Linked DNA regions of Homo sapiens: region 1 is linked to region 2. Evidence: promoter capture Hi-C in 16 types of primary human blood cells and fetal thymus (Javierre and others, 2016). All regions are on one chromosome and are shown on one strand. The core of a region is centred on a gene start or on the middle of the fragment in contact, and the rest is flanking DNA. Distances in the headings are between cores, read along the strand shown. Region 1 has its middle 4.8 kb from the start of KDM3A. Region 2 holds the start of POLR1A (RNA polymerase I subunit A).

Region 1 (6,900 bases), core at 3,795-6,294, 330 kb after region 2:
TTTGATAAAATTCAATATCTCTCCATGATAAAAACTATAAAAAACTTAGGTATGGAGGGAACATACCTCAAAACAGTAAAGGCCACATATAACAAACTGACAGCCTACATCATACTGAGTGAAGAAAAGTTGAAAGCTTTTTCTCTAAGAACTAGAACAAGACAAACATTCCCACTTGCACCACTTGTATTCAACATAGTACTGGAAGCCGTAGGCCAGCCCAGAGGAATTATGCAAGAGAAAGAAAGGGCATTCAAATTGGAAAAGAGGAAGTCAAATTGTCCTGTGTGCAGATAACATGATTTATACATAAAAAAATCAAGACTCCACCAAAAAACTCTTAGAACTGATAAATTCAGTAAAGTTGGAGGATATAAAATCAATCTACAAAAATCCAAAAAATCAAAAATGAAGGTGAGGTTGGGTGCAGTGCCTAACACCTGTAATCCCAACGCTTTGGGAGGCCAAGGTAGGAGGATCACTTGAGGCCAGGAGTTTGAGACTAGCCTGGACAACATAGCAAGATCCTGTCTCTAAAAAAAATGAAGGTGAAATTAAAACCTATTGAATAGATGAAAGCTGAAATAATTTATCTCCAGCAGGTCTCAACTTCAAGATATACTAAAATAAGTTCATTAGAGTAAAATAAGAGCTAGACTTTACCTGAAAGCTGCAAAAATTAATAGTTTAGATTTATGTATAATAAACTTATTTAAACTTATTCCATAAGAAGAAAAATTAAGACAACTTATTTGAAAACAAAGATGAAGTCTCATCTTCCAATTGACTTTCTCATTAGTTTCTTCCAAAGTAAGGTCTCAAAGTGGTGACTGACACTTTTTTCATAATGAACCCTTTCACAACATTGTATAGCCTGTGGTAAGTACAAAGGTAAAGGAAGACATATTTAAGAGCTTTACTATCAGTATTAACTCTTCCTGGTTCAATTGTGTTCTTTTTTTGTCTATTAAGTTAAAATACAAACCAACATTGATATTCACTTTCCAATATGTTAAAACATAATGTTACTTATGAAAAATATTTTTCATGTAATTGTGTTATGTCTTGTATATATACCTCAAAGTCAAATGAATATCTTTCATGTATGTTCTAAAACAACATAAACAACACAACATTAATAATATCCTTAATTATAAACATAGTAAGATGTTTTGCCATTGCTGCTAAATGACATTTTGTACTTCTTTCCTTATGCTCTCTGTATTGTATTAAACAACTCCCAGTGCTGTTGAACTGCTCTTATTTTAAAAAACAAAACAAGAAAAAACCTTGACATTGCATACATTTTTTGGTTAATCAAATCATATACATAGAAACATGTAATGCAACTGAGTTGAATATATATCAAATTCTTGACTTAGTATTACCAATGAGCAGAAATGCACAGTAAGCAAATATTTTATTATGCCCTTTATTTGTCCTTATTGATATCTAAATTACTGAAAAAGGTATGAATCTATTTCTTAAGGCTGATTAGGCTGAAGGGAAATTATATCAGATGGAAGTCTGGTTTTTCAGGAAGAGATGCAGAAAGAGTAAAAATGTTGGAAAATATAAAGAGCAGAAAAGGAAAACAAATAAAACATTAAGAAGTGTTTTTAAACCCAAACATATTCATCGTATCCAAGAACTGAAAACAGTTCAGATATCCATCAACAAAGCATGGACATATTGGCTGGGCACTGTGGCTCACACCTGTAATCCCGGCACTTTGGGAGGCTGAGGCAGGTGGATCACCTGAGGTTAGGAGTACGAGACCAGCCTGGCCAACATGGTGAAACCCCATCTCTACTAAAAAACTACAAAAACTAGTCAGGCATGGTGGCACGCCCCTGTAGTCCCAGCTACTTGGGAGGCTGAGGCTGAGGGAGGAGAATTGGTTGAACCGCGGAGGCAGAGATTGCAGTGAGCTGAGATCACGCCACTGTACTCTAGCCTGGGCAACAGAGCAAGATGCTGTCTCAAAATAAAACAAAACAAAAAAAGCGTGGACATACAAACTGTGGCATATTCAGACATCGGGATACTACCCAGCAATGAAAAGGAACAAAATTCCTATAGATGTGATGACCTGGATGACTCTCAAAAACATGTTGAGTAAAGGAAGCTAGACACAAAAGAGTATATACTGTATTACTGCCTTTAAATTAAACAACGGGCAAAGGTAATTTATGATGATAGAAACTGGAACAACAGTTACTCTGGGAAGGAGTACTTCCTTCCCAGCATGAGGGAATATTTAGAGGTCATGGAAATATTCTGTCTCAGACTTTGGCAAATCTTTTCTATAAGGAGCAAAAGTATTATTATTTTTGGCTTTCAAGGACATACAGTCTCTGTTATAACTACTTAAGTTTATCACTGTAGTGTGAAATCAGCCATAGATAAAACATAAACAAATGGGTATGGCTATGTTCTATTAAAATATTCTTTATAGCTGAGTGCAGTGGCTCAGGCCTGTAATCCCAGCACTTTGGGAGGCCAAGGCAGGTGGATCACTTGAGCTCAGGAGTTCGAGAGCAGCCTGGACAACATGGCGAGACTCCATCTCTATTTTTAAAAAAATTATTAATAAAATAAAAATTAAAACAATATTATTTGTAGACACAAAGAATATAATAATAATATAATAATTTCTCACCAATTATATAAAATTTGAATTTTATATAATTTTAATGTGTCACAAAACATTGTTCTCGCTTCCCCCTCATATATTAAAAAATGTAAAAACCACTCTTGAAACGCTGTAGAAAATTAGGCAGTGGAACAGATTTGGCCTGTGGCTGTAGTTTGCTGACCCCTGTTCTATATCTTGATGGGGTGTAGGTTATTTGGATGCATGTAATTCATAAGCTGATAAAAATGTTCACTTAAGATCTATGCTTTTCTCTGGATATAAATTATTCCTCAACAGAAAAAGTCTTTAAAATACCCAGAGGCAAGGAGCTTAGCGCTGACACTCTGGGATGACTTCATTAATTGTCACAGGTGCTTTGCCTTAACAGAAATAGCATAAGACATTTAGATTTTCACATAAAACACGAGTTATTCTTGTGCTATTTCAGGGAAGCAGATTTAGGCAAAAATATTGTGCTCTAATTGTTTTGAAATTGAGAAATCAAGGTCAAGCATATTCCAAATTTTCTGTTGCCAACTTTCTTAAGGCATTTGGGAACTTCTGATGTCCTCTGGAGCTAGGGTTGACACAGCAAGTTAGTGTCAGGATTTGACTGGAATATATACCCTGAAGCTTGGATAATTTTTACTAACCAGTGGAAGTTATTTCTGGCAATACCCAGTGGCTAAAATATATTTGTTGGCAGTTTCAATATCCTGCTGCTCAGTCCTCCATCTGTCTTCACCTCAGTGTATCCTTTGACCTTACTGCATGGTCTTCCAAGTTGAAACTCTTTTTGGCTTGCTTCCAGAATGTACCTCTCACCTGGTTCTCCTGCTGCTTCTAAGAGATCTCTTGGTCTTTTCAGTGCCCACTGCTGGTCCCTACATGAATGCCCTCCTCACCCTCCTTGGGGTCTGACATCCATGTCAAATCACTCTCCTACACACTCTCCTCCCCCTCCTCAGGCTCTGTTACTCATGCCAGGCTTTCTTCTCATGTAAACAGTCTCTTCACTCTGTTTGGGCTCCAACATACCACACTAGGCTGCCCCCATTCATGGATGCCCTCCTCACCTCACTTGGACTCTAGATAACCCAGGCTAGGTTAACCTTTTGTGTGTCTACCCTTCTCACCCCACTTGGGCTCTGACTGTCTATGCCCGGCTATTACTCCTTACTCTTTAGAGCTCTAACATCCCATGGCTGACAGCCTCTCCTTATTAACACCTATCTTGCTCTGCCCCTCCTAATGGCCTCAAGACTGAAATGTTTAGAAAGAGGAAAGGAAAGAGAAAAAAGTAGAAGAGAGGAGGGAATTTTAAAATATTTTATTGGATTTTAAAATATGTAGCATTTTGATCTACCTGGAACTTATTTTCGTGAATGTTGGTGTAGGAATCTTGGTTATATATACATTATATACTTTTTTTTTTTGAGACAGAGTCTTGCTTCGTCATCCAGGCTGGAGTGCAGTGGCGTGATCTCAGCTCACTGCAACCTCTGCTTCCTGGGTTTAAGGTTCAAGTGATTCTTCTGTCTCAGCCTCCCGAGTAGCTGGGATTGTGGATGTGCACCACAACAGCCAGCTAATTTTTACAGTAGCGATGAGGTCTCACCATGTTGGCCAGGCTGGTCTCAAACTCCTGACCTGAAGTGATCTGCCACCTCAGCTTCCCAAAATGCTGGGATTACAGGCATAAGTCACTGCGCCCGGCTTATATATACATTTTTAATGGATAATCAATAGACCTCAAAGCATGTATTGCATAGTTTATTCTTTACACCCACTAGAAATATGTCGATCACAAACTAATTTTTAATATACACTGGGTCTGTTTCTTTGTTCTCTTCATTACTTATATATTTATGTCTTGATGTTTTTATTTGTTGTTTTGTTAGAGGAGAAATGACATATTTATCAGATCATATCAAGAGACAGAATTTTTCATCTTCTTTATACATGTCAGCAAAGTCTAATTTTCTTCATATAGGTTGTGTTCATTTCATGTATTAATTTTTAGGGATTACATGTTTTATTATCATTAATGGTTTTTATTTTTCTACTGTATGTTCTAATTGATGCTTGCTAAGGAATAGGAATTCTTTTGATTTTCGTTTGTTGATCTTTTATTGCATTATCTTTTTGATTCTTGTTTTAATTCTAATAATTTGTCACTGATGCTTTTGATTTATCTACAAATGTTTTGGGCTTTTTCTTCCATTCCAATGTTTACATTGTATTATTTTTCTTGTCTTATTACATTAGCAATTAACCTCTATTGTAACTTGAATAGTAATGACAGCATTGGGCATCCTTATCTTGCTCCTGACTTTATTGGGAATTTTTCTAAAATTTCACAATTAAGTACAATGTTTAAGTATATTTCTGGTAGATATCCTTTATAGAGTTATAAAATTTTCTTTTCTTGATAGTTTGCTAAGAGTTTTTATAATGAATGAAAATGAAGTATATAAAATTTTTGGTGTATCTATTGAGATAATCATATGTATTTTCTCCTTTAATTTGTTAATGTAGCAGATTCCATTAATGAGAGTTAAAAATTAAATTTTAAAAGTAACATGTGAGTACATTTACCTTATAAAATGAGAGAATTACAGGGAGTGGGGAGATTGGGTAGATGTTGGTCAAAGGACACAAAATTTCAGTTAGACAGGAGGAATAAGTTCAAATGATCTAATGTACATCATGGTGACTACAGTTAATGACAATATATTGTATATTTGAAAATTGCTAAGAGTGGATTTTAAGTGTTCTCACCACACAAAAAAAGATGAGTATGTGAGGGAATGCATATGTAAAATAATTTGATATAGCCATTCCACAATGTATATCTATACCAAAACATCATATTGTACACCATATAGTTTTACCTGTCAATTAAAAATAAGGTGATAAAAATGTAAATACAAAAAAAGTGTATTTATAAAAAATTAGAATTACAAATAATATGTGTTGTCTTTGACTAATACCCCTAATTCTAGTGTGCACCCCCTAATACCAGTAACCATTACTGTAAGTTTTAATAACCATATTTAACAGAACATATATACTGTTGTTTTTGTATGTGTATTTTGAAATAGTACCAAATGCAAATTTCTTTTTCATTCATAATGTATTTTGGTAACTATTTTTATTGGAACATCTAGCTGCTTTGACTCCTTTACAAATCCTCTACAACTTTCCAATATATGCATTACATTCCATTTATTGTTAATAATTTTATTTATTCCTTCTCCAACTGGAGTACACTTAGGTTATTTGCAGATGTTTTTTCGTTCATATGTGTGTGGGTGTTTTTCTGTGGTACGTAACTTATATTCCTAGGTTTTTAGAAAGTTTAAAAACATTTTTTAAAAATTATGGGTGGTATTGAATATAAGTGTACACTTATAATCTTCTTAGTTTTCTATGTAATTTAAAAATACTCTTAAGATCACAAGTGTTCAATGTGACTGCATGCTCTATTTAGCCCTAAGGTGAATATACGATTTTTCTTTTTTAACCTGTCATGGTGAATTTTAGTAATTTTCTAATCTTGAAGTATCTTTGCATTCATATAACACTAATTAATCATATCAATTACCTAAAAAAAATGCTGCTGGATTTAATTTGCTGGTATTTTATAAAAGAATTTCCCATCTATGTTCCTAAGTATAATTGAACCATAGTTTTTCTTTCTTATACTCGCCCAGTTCAGAATTTGTGAAACGGTTTTATAACTTTTATAAAATGCATTGGATATCTTTCCATCTTTTCTAAGCTCTGAAATAATGAATTCAACATAGAAAGTATATGTTCCTTCAGGTTCAATAGAATTTTTCCCTTGAGTTGTTTTTCAAATTAATATTTAATTACATAATCTAAGTTCTCCATATCTTCCCTTATATTTTACATTTGAGTTGCATATTTCTGAGATATTTATGTCTTCTACTCTGAAAACAAATTGTCAAATTTGTAAAATTTCTCATCGTTCATAGCGTCACCTTAGGATAGGCCATGTTTTTAGATTCATAACAGTTCAGGAGACCATACTGTCTTCATGGACTTTATCTTTAATATAAAATCCTTTCTCTTTTGATACTTTTAATTGTATTAATATTGCTATACTGCTTTCATTTGGCTACCATTTGATTAAATATTTTAGCCCAGTATTTTCAAGCTTCCTGTTTTGTAAGCATTTGCTTATGGTCAATTTATAGCTGGATTGTCCTTTTATTCCCAACTGTCTTTTAAAACTT
Region 2 (6,653 bases), core at 730-3,229:
ACACTGCATGCAGAGGGAATAGCTTAAAGAAAGGCCCAGATGTTGAAATATGATGGCGGTTTCTGGAATATGCAGGTGGTTTAATAGGGCTGAAGAAGGGATGATGTTATAGCTAAAATCAGCATTGGTCTGATCATGGGAGACTTTGCAGGCTATGCTAAGAAAATATACTTTATCTGAGGGAAATGGAGAACATTTGGAGGGTTTTAAGGGTGACAGTAGCATGACTACATTTGCACTTTGCAAGAATAATTTTGACAGCAGTGTGGAGCATGCACTTGAGAGGTGTAAGGGGAGGGTGGAAGGAAAAGACAATTCAAATATGAGATAAGGGCCAGAGGCAACACAGTAGCAATTGGGAGAAAAAGGAGACTAAGAACAAATAGACATGTAGGTGACACAAAGTAAGAGCCCAATAAATAAGTTATATGTCAGGAGAGATCTAGAATAATTTTCCAGTTTCTAGTGACTATTTTGCACTACGTACACCATTTTGGAGGGGTAAGTAACCCCTCCCTTTGAAGAGGGATGCCGTGTTGAGTTTTTTTTTTTTTTTTTTTGAGACAGAGTATTGCTCTGTCGCCAGGCTGGAGTGCAGTGGCACAATCTCGGCTCACTGCAACCTCCGCCTCCTGGGTTCAAGCGATTCTCCTGCCTCAGCCTCCCGAGTAACTGGGACTACAGGTGCCCGCCACCACGCCCAGCTAATTTTTGTATTTTTAGTAGAGACGGGGTTTCACCATGTTGGCCAGGGATGGTCTCGATCTCCCGACCTCGTGATCCGCCGGCCTCGGCCTCCCAAAGTGCTGGGATTACAGGCGTGAGCCACCGTGCCCGGCCATGTTGAGTTTCTGATATGCATTTAGGCCATGTTGAGTTTTTGATATGCATTTAAGATCTCTGTGTGAAATTCAATTAAAGATGTACAGACAGCTGAACAAATGGGTCTGAAAATCAGGGAAATAAATTTGCGTTGGGGATTTAAATTTGAGACTATAAATCATGAAAGTGGTGAGATTGTCTAGGGACAATATTTACCATGAAGAAAACATTACTAGAATAGAATCTTGAAGAACATCAACATTTAAGGAGTAAAATGAGGTACAGACCTTGCTCACCAATGTGTCATTAACGCCTAGCTTGGTGCCTGGAAAAAACTGGATGCTCAATAAATGTTTGTGAGGTTATAGATCGATAGAGGAAGAGAGGGAGGTAGAAGTATTTGTCATAAAAATAGGAGAACTTGAAGACAAATAAGGTTCTGGAAGAAAGGAAAGTTTCAAGAGAGTGCATTGGAGAATGTCAAATGCTACCTTGATCAAAATGAAGACTAAAGAGAGTTCCCTTGATTTAACAACCAGACCGAGAATATAGCAGGGTCCTAGCAAAGAGAAGTTAACGCCTGAACTGACACTTGAAGGACAATCATTTTACAAACAAGAGGAAACTTACTACGTGCCTAATTAACCATGTCAGGTACACTATGGTTAATTCCACAAATGCTTGTTAGTTAACGAGGAGACTGGCAGATGATAACGCTGCAGACCAGGACCCTCCCCACCCTTATATTCCCCTACCTCAGCGCAAACTCTTTCCCCCAGCACCACCGGCCTCTTATCCAGGCAGTCCACGCCGGCCCAGGAACGTTCCCAGAACTACGGCTCCCAGCAGGACAAGCGCCAGACAAGCCTGGACTCAAGAGGATAGACTGGGCAAAAGCGCTTCTGGGAATCGTAGTTTAGGGCGCCGACCTCAAGATCCAGGCTGGGCACGCTACCCGACCAACTCCTTACTTGAGCTCTTCAGCCGAATACATCCCGAAGGAAATGCCCTGCAGCCGCCGCCAGGGCATGTTCTTGGAGATCAACATCCTCCAGGTCCGTTTTGAATTCCGACACCCCAAGAGACGTTCCACTCACCACCTGACTATTCTTAATTCAACCTCAAGCCCGGAGTCACCACGCGATTCAACGTGCGCTTGCGCGCGGAAGCGGTCGCAGGAACGACATTTACGTGGATGAGATCACTTCTACATGGGGGGGGAACAAATAGTTGTACGACTCTCTGCTCGCTCTTTTGTTTTGAAAACAATCAAAGATATATAAGACATCAAAATAATCATTTAGGAAAATTCCTCCGAGGCAAATCGGGTGTATAGAGCTTTTAGCTTCCGTGACGAAGTCTTTCAAACCATGAGCTTGCAACCTCCCATTTTATGATTGCTTTCGTCTTCTTCCGCTTCAGCCAATAGCGGAGCTGTTCCCTGCTCCCCGCCCACTGCGCCCCACCTTCCTGAAGGTCGAGGCACGCTTTCCCAACATGCTCTGCAGAGAAATCAAAGATGGCGGTTGTATCTGCTGTTCGCTGGCTGGGCCTCCGCAGCAGGCTTGGCCAGCCGCTGACGGGTCGGCGGGCGGGTTTGTGTGAACAGGCACGCAGCTGCAGGTAAGAGACGCTTAGGGTATCCGCGAAGAAGACCGCGGAGTCACCTTAGTCCTATGTTTCCCAGCTGGCTGTGGAAGTAGGCACGATGAAATGGTTTGCTCATGCGCGCCCTTAACGGTCGCGTGCCCTTAAGACCAGGTACGCGGAGGTGGCCCTTTGAAATAGGATTCGCAACGCATTTATTCATTAGAGAAATACTTATTGGTTGCTTGCAATATTCTGTAGTTAACACCATCCGCAAAGCTAGGACCCTGCTCTCATGAAGCTTGCGTTCCAGTGAGTGTGGCTATTAGCAACACTACCCCAAATTAAAAATTATCCGCCATTACTCATTTTAACCCAATCAGGAGGAGCGAGGAGAACGTACAAGATCTTCCCAAATAAAAGGCAGTCTCTGGTCGCCACCGTGGGGACTTTGGCTAAAGAAGTTATCAGGTTTTCGTAAAAGCAGAAAAGTCTAAAAGATCTGACTATGCCCTTTTGATCTGTGATAGTTATAGCTTGGAACATGTATGACCTATCTGTGTAATTTTTTTTTCACTCAGTACAAACAGTGGCATTGTGGGAATATGAGAGGCAGTAATTTGTAGTGAAAACTTGCTAAAAGCCTAATTTTAGGTTTAGTGTTTGCCATTCACTTAATTGGATGATAATAGACAGATTTCCTCATCTGCAGACTAGAGTTGGTAATAACCATCCGAAAAGTTTGTGAGGTATAAGTGGGGTATGTAATTTACAATATGTTTTTATATGTACTCTCCCTTAGTTCCCCTCAAGAAAGAGAAACCACTCCATCTGATACTGCAGAAACCTTTGTGCTGCCATTCAATGCCAGTCCTCCGTTTCCTGGTAGCCATCGTTAGCATTTTTCTACTCATTTTCTTTGCCTGAAGCAGAATCTCTTCCTCAGCATCCGTTCTCAAAATAACTGTGATCTCTGTTTTAAGGTCATGAGAAACAAATAGTGTGACTTGAAAGAGTTGATCTCAGAAACTTGAAAGAGTTGATCTCTTTCTGAAATGTCCTTAACGTAGAGGGGTATTCTTGTTTTAAATGATACCTGAAACCAGATACTACTGGAGGAAGTATCTGTCTGTGCAATCACATCTTGACAATTTTCTGAATGTTACTGATGCCATTTAGTAAGGGGAAACACAAGATAATACTAACCGTCACATTATCTGTGGTGTGTTGACTGTGTTTTTAGTGTGATCAGAACACTTAAACAGAACACTTAAAAACTCAGTCATGGGCCAATGATTCTATATTTTGGTTTAAAAAGGATTTCATATTGAACCTCTGAAAATAGAAAATATCAGCAATTCCAAGTCTAAATCAGGCCTTATGTATTTGGTACATTCTTGATTGTTGAAAGAAGTGGAATGAGAAGCCATGGGTCATCTTCCCTATGTTGTAATTGCTTTAAGTGAGGTAGTCCTTTCTGATCAGGGCAGTATCTGTATAGAAGCAAGAGCTCACTGAATTGTTCTTTTAAACATCATAGTGTTTTGGGTTCCTGAAGTTGAAAGTTCTTCATTTCAAACCAGATTGTTCAAGTGCTATTAAAAACTTTCCTCCCTCTCTGCCATTTATGTAATGAGATTGCTTGCTTCCAAAACTTTTGTCTAGCCGGGCATGGTGGCATATGCCTGTAGTCCTAGTTACTCAGGAGGCTGAAGCAGGAGGGTCACTTGAGCCCAGGAGTTCAAGGGTTCAGTGAGCTATAATTGCACTACTTCACTAAAGGCTAGGCAATGGAGCAAGACCCTGTCTCTAAAAAAAAAAAAAAAAAAGTTTTGACAGTCTTGTCCATATCTTGTATCCATTCCTTAATGATATTGAACATGTGTACAGACTGTCTTCTCAGCGTTCATTGACATGAGTTATCCAGTTTAATCCGTGATAATTGGAGAATTTGGGCTCAAAGTACACATAGGTGGAGGTGAGCTGGGTACTTCATTAATGACTATTAGATTTAAGGCTTTTGTTTTTTTGCAGATTTTATTCTGGTAGTGCAACCCTCTCAAAGGTTGAAGGAACTGATGTAACAGGTATATTTTAAAATATATTGAATTCTATTTTTATATCAACACGTTGGATTCCATTGTAGTACTAGGAAACTGATTCATGTTTTCTTTTTTACATTAGGGATTGAAGAAGTAGTAATTCCAAAAAAGAAAACTTGGTAAGTATTCTATCAGTGTTCATTCAGCAAATGGTTGAGTGCTTACTATGAGAGAAGTGTAAGGGTTAGGTAAGGAGACAGTGACAGGAAGAGCAATAGGAGAGCATTCTTGAAGAGAGTAGCTGAGCGGGGAGAAGCTAGGAGTTTAAAGGACAAAAAATGGAAAGGTGGAGAATAGTGAGTGAATGAGCAATGAGATTTACTTAAAAGAACAATTGAAAGAGATTTTGAATTAGTGTGGGTTACTATTTACGTGGTTAATAATACATGGTTATACATGAACATCATCATTAGAATAATTTTTTTCAAGGAAGTTCTCTCATATGATTCAAGAGCAGACAGTTACTGTCTTTATTATCTCTAATGAGGTAAAAATAAAGTAAATGGTGTGGACAGCAAAATTTAGCTTTTTTATTCACTGGATATATCCTTGAACAAATTGCCTCATCTCATTTATTCAACATTTGTTGAATATGCAGGAATTAAAACTTCACAAAAGTGCTTGTTACAGTGTAGTCCTATTGAACGCATTTAGTGGCCCCTCAAAAAGCTAGGTCTTAAAATTATGTGACCTAAAGACTCGGGTTCGCCAGGCGCGGTGGCTTACGCCTGTAATCCCAGCACTTTGGGAGGCCGAGGCGGGCGGATGATGAGGTCAGGAGATTGAGACCATCCTGGCTAACACGGTGAAACCCCGTCTCTACTAAAAATACAAAAAAATTAGCCGGATGTGGTGGGGGGTCGCCTGTAGTCCCAGCTACTCGGGAGGCTGAGGCAGGAGAATGGCGTGAACCCGGGAGACGGAGCTTGCAGTGAGCCGAGGTCGCGCCACTGCACTCCAGCCTGGGCGACAGAGCAAGACTCCATCTCAAAAAAAAAAAAAGACTTGGGTTCATTTAAAAAGACTTTTTTAAGAACTTTATTAATCTGAACTGTGTGATTATTTTAGGGAGGCCAGGGAGCCCAGTGATGTCAATGCATAGGTAACTGGGATCATAAAAGAAGTGCAAATTAAAACTTACCGTATTGGCAGAGAGAGGATTTGAAGAAATACGTTTGTTTATGGGACAGTAAATTGGAACAGCTCTTTGGAGGGAAATTTGGCAGAATCAGAATTGGAAATGTGCGTACCTTACTGGTTAGCCACTTTGGAGGAACATTTGCATATATACATGGACAAGACTGTTCTTTATTACTTGGGAATAGTAACAGGTTGAAACAGCCTGAATGCCCATTGAAAAGTGAATGGATAATTTTAAAAGGTTATCATACAATAACTTTTTACATTGAAAGGAATTAATTAGCTCTATATTTAATAACATGGATAGTGCAGCCAAACTTATGTAGACACATGCAGAATGACAGTGTGTATACGTTTTTTAGGGAGATGTTTATGTGTGAAAATACCTTTAAAAGTTCTGGAAATACAAATACCAAATTCATCGTGGAGAGGGGTCACAAGATGACACCAGACACTTTAGGTTAACGTGTAATGTTCTAGTTTATTTTTTTAAGATAATGTATGATACCTTTTAAAGTAACCCTTTAAAGAAAGAGAATTAGTGAGTAATCTGAATGTCATCATTTTTTCACTGCCATTTGTTCAATATGTTAGGAAAGTTTGCTAACTTGATAAGACTTAAATAGGGCAATAAAAGATCTGCTGAAGGAATGCTGACAGATGAGAGAATGTGTCGTTATCACACTTGCTGAAATTACATAAATGTGACTTCTAAACGTGGATAGAAAATTTAGTGGATATTATGTACATCAGGGAATTAGTTTTGATGAAATATAAAATTTCCTGTACTTTTGTTTTTCTCAGATGACTTATAGTCTTAAGAATGTTATGTTAAACTTTATTTAGAAAAATACTCTTGGTATAATTCCCTTTTGGAAAGGAAACACATTAAATCTAACATAGGAGCACAAATATATTTGAGATCAAATTATCTTGTCTGTCATTTATTCCAGTGAAGCCTTTTCTAATAGTTCAGTAAAGGTCTCTACTCAGAGGTGCAGT

Evidence for each region. The method cuts DNA at HindIII sites, captures the fragments that hold promoters and counts their contacts. A CHiCAGO score of 5 or more calls a contact.
Region 1: a contact is called between a fragment that was not itself captured here and the fragment with the promoter of POLR1A in region 2, in 1 of 17 cell types (fetal thymus). The highest score is 8.6, in fetal thymus.

The regions. Positions count from the first base shown.
Region 1 is chr2:86,433,085-86,439,984 of GRCh38, forward strand. It overlaps a transcript of KDM3A not described here. Among named protein-coding and RNA genes, the nearest start is that of KDM3A, 4.8 kb to the right of the region's middle. The HindIII fragment of the contact is 3,550 bases long and covers 3,270-6,819 here.
Region 2 is chr2:86,103,907-86,110,559 of GRCh38, forward strand. POLR1A (RNA polymerase I subunit A) reads right to left here and starts at 1,980. Exons shown (of 34, transcript NM_015425.6): 1 at 1,794-1,980. The coding sequence starts at 1,870. PTCD3 (pentatricopeptide repeat domain 3) reads left to right here and starts at 2,329. Exons shown (of 24, transcript NM_017952.6): 1 at 2,329-2,445; 2 at 4,444-4,496; 3 at 4,594-4,630. The coding sequence starts at 2,342. RefSeq lists enhancers at 1,500-1,589, 1,790-1,999, 2,380-2,639. The HindIII fragment of the contact is 4,349 bases long and covers 1-2,708 here.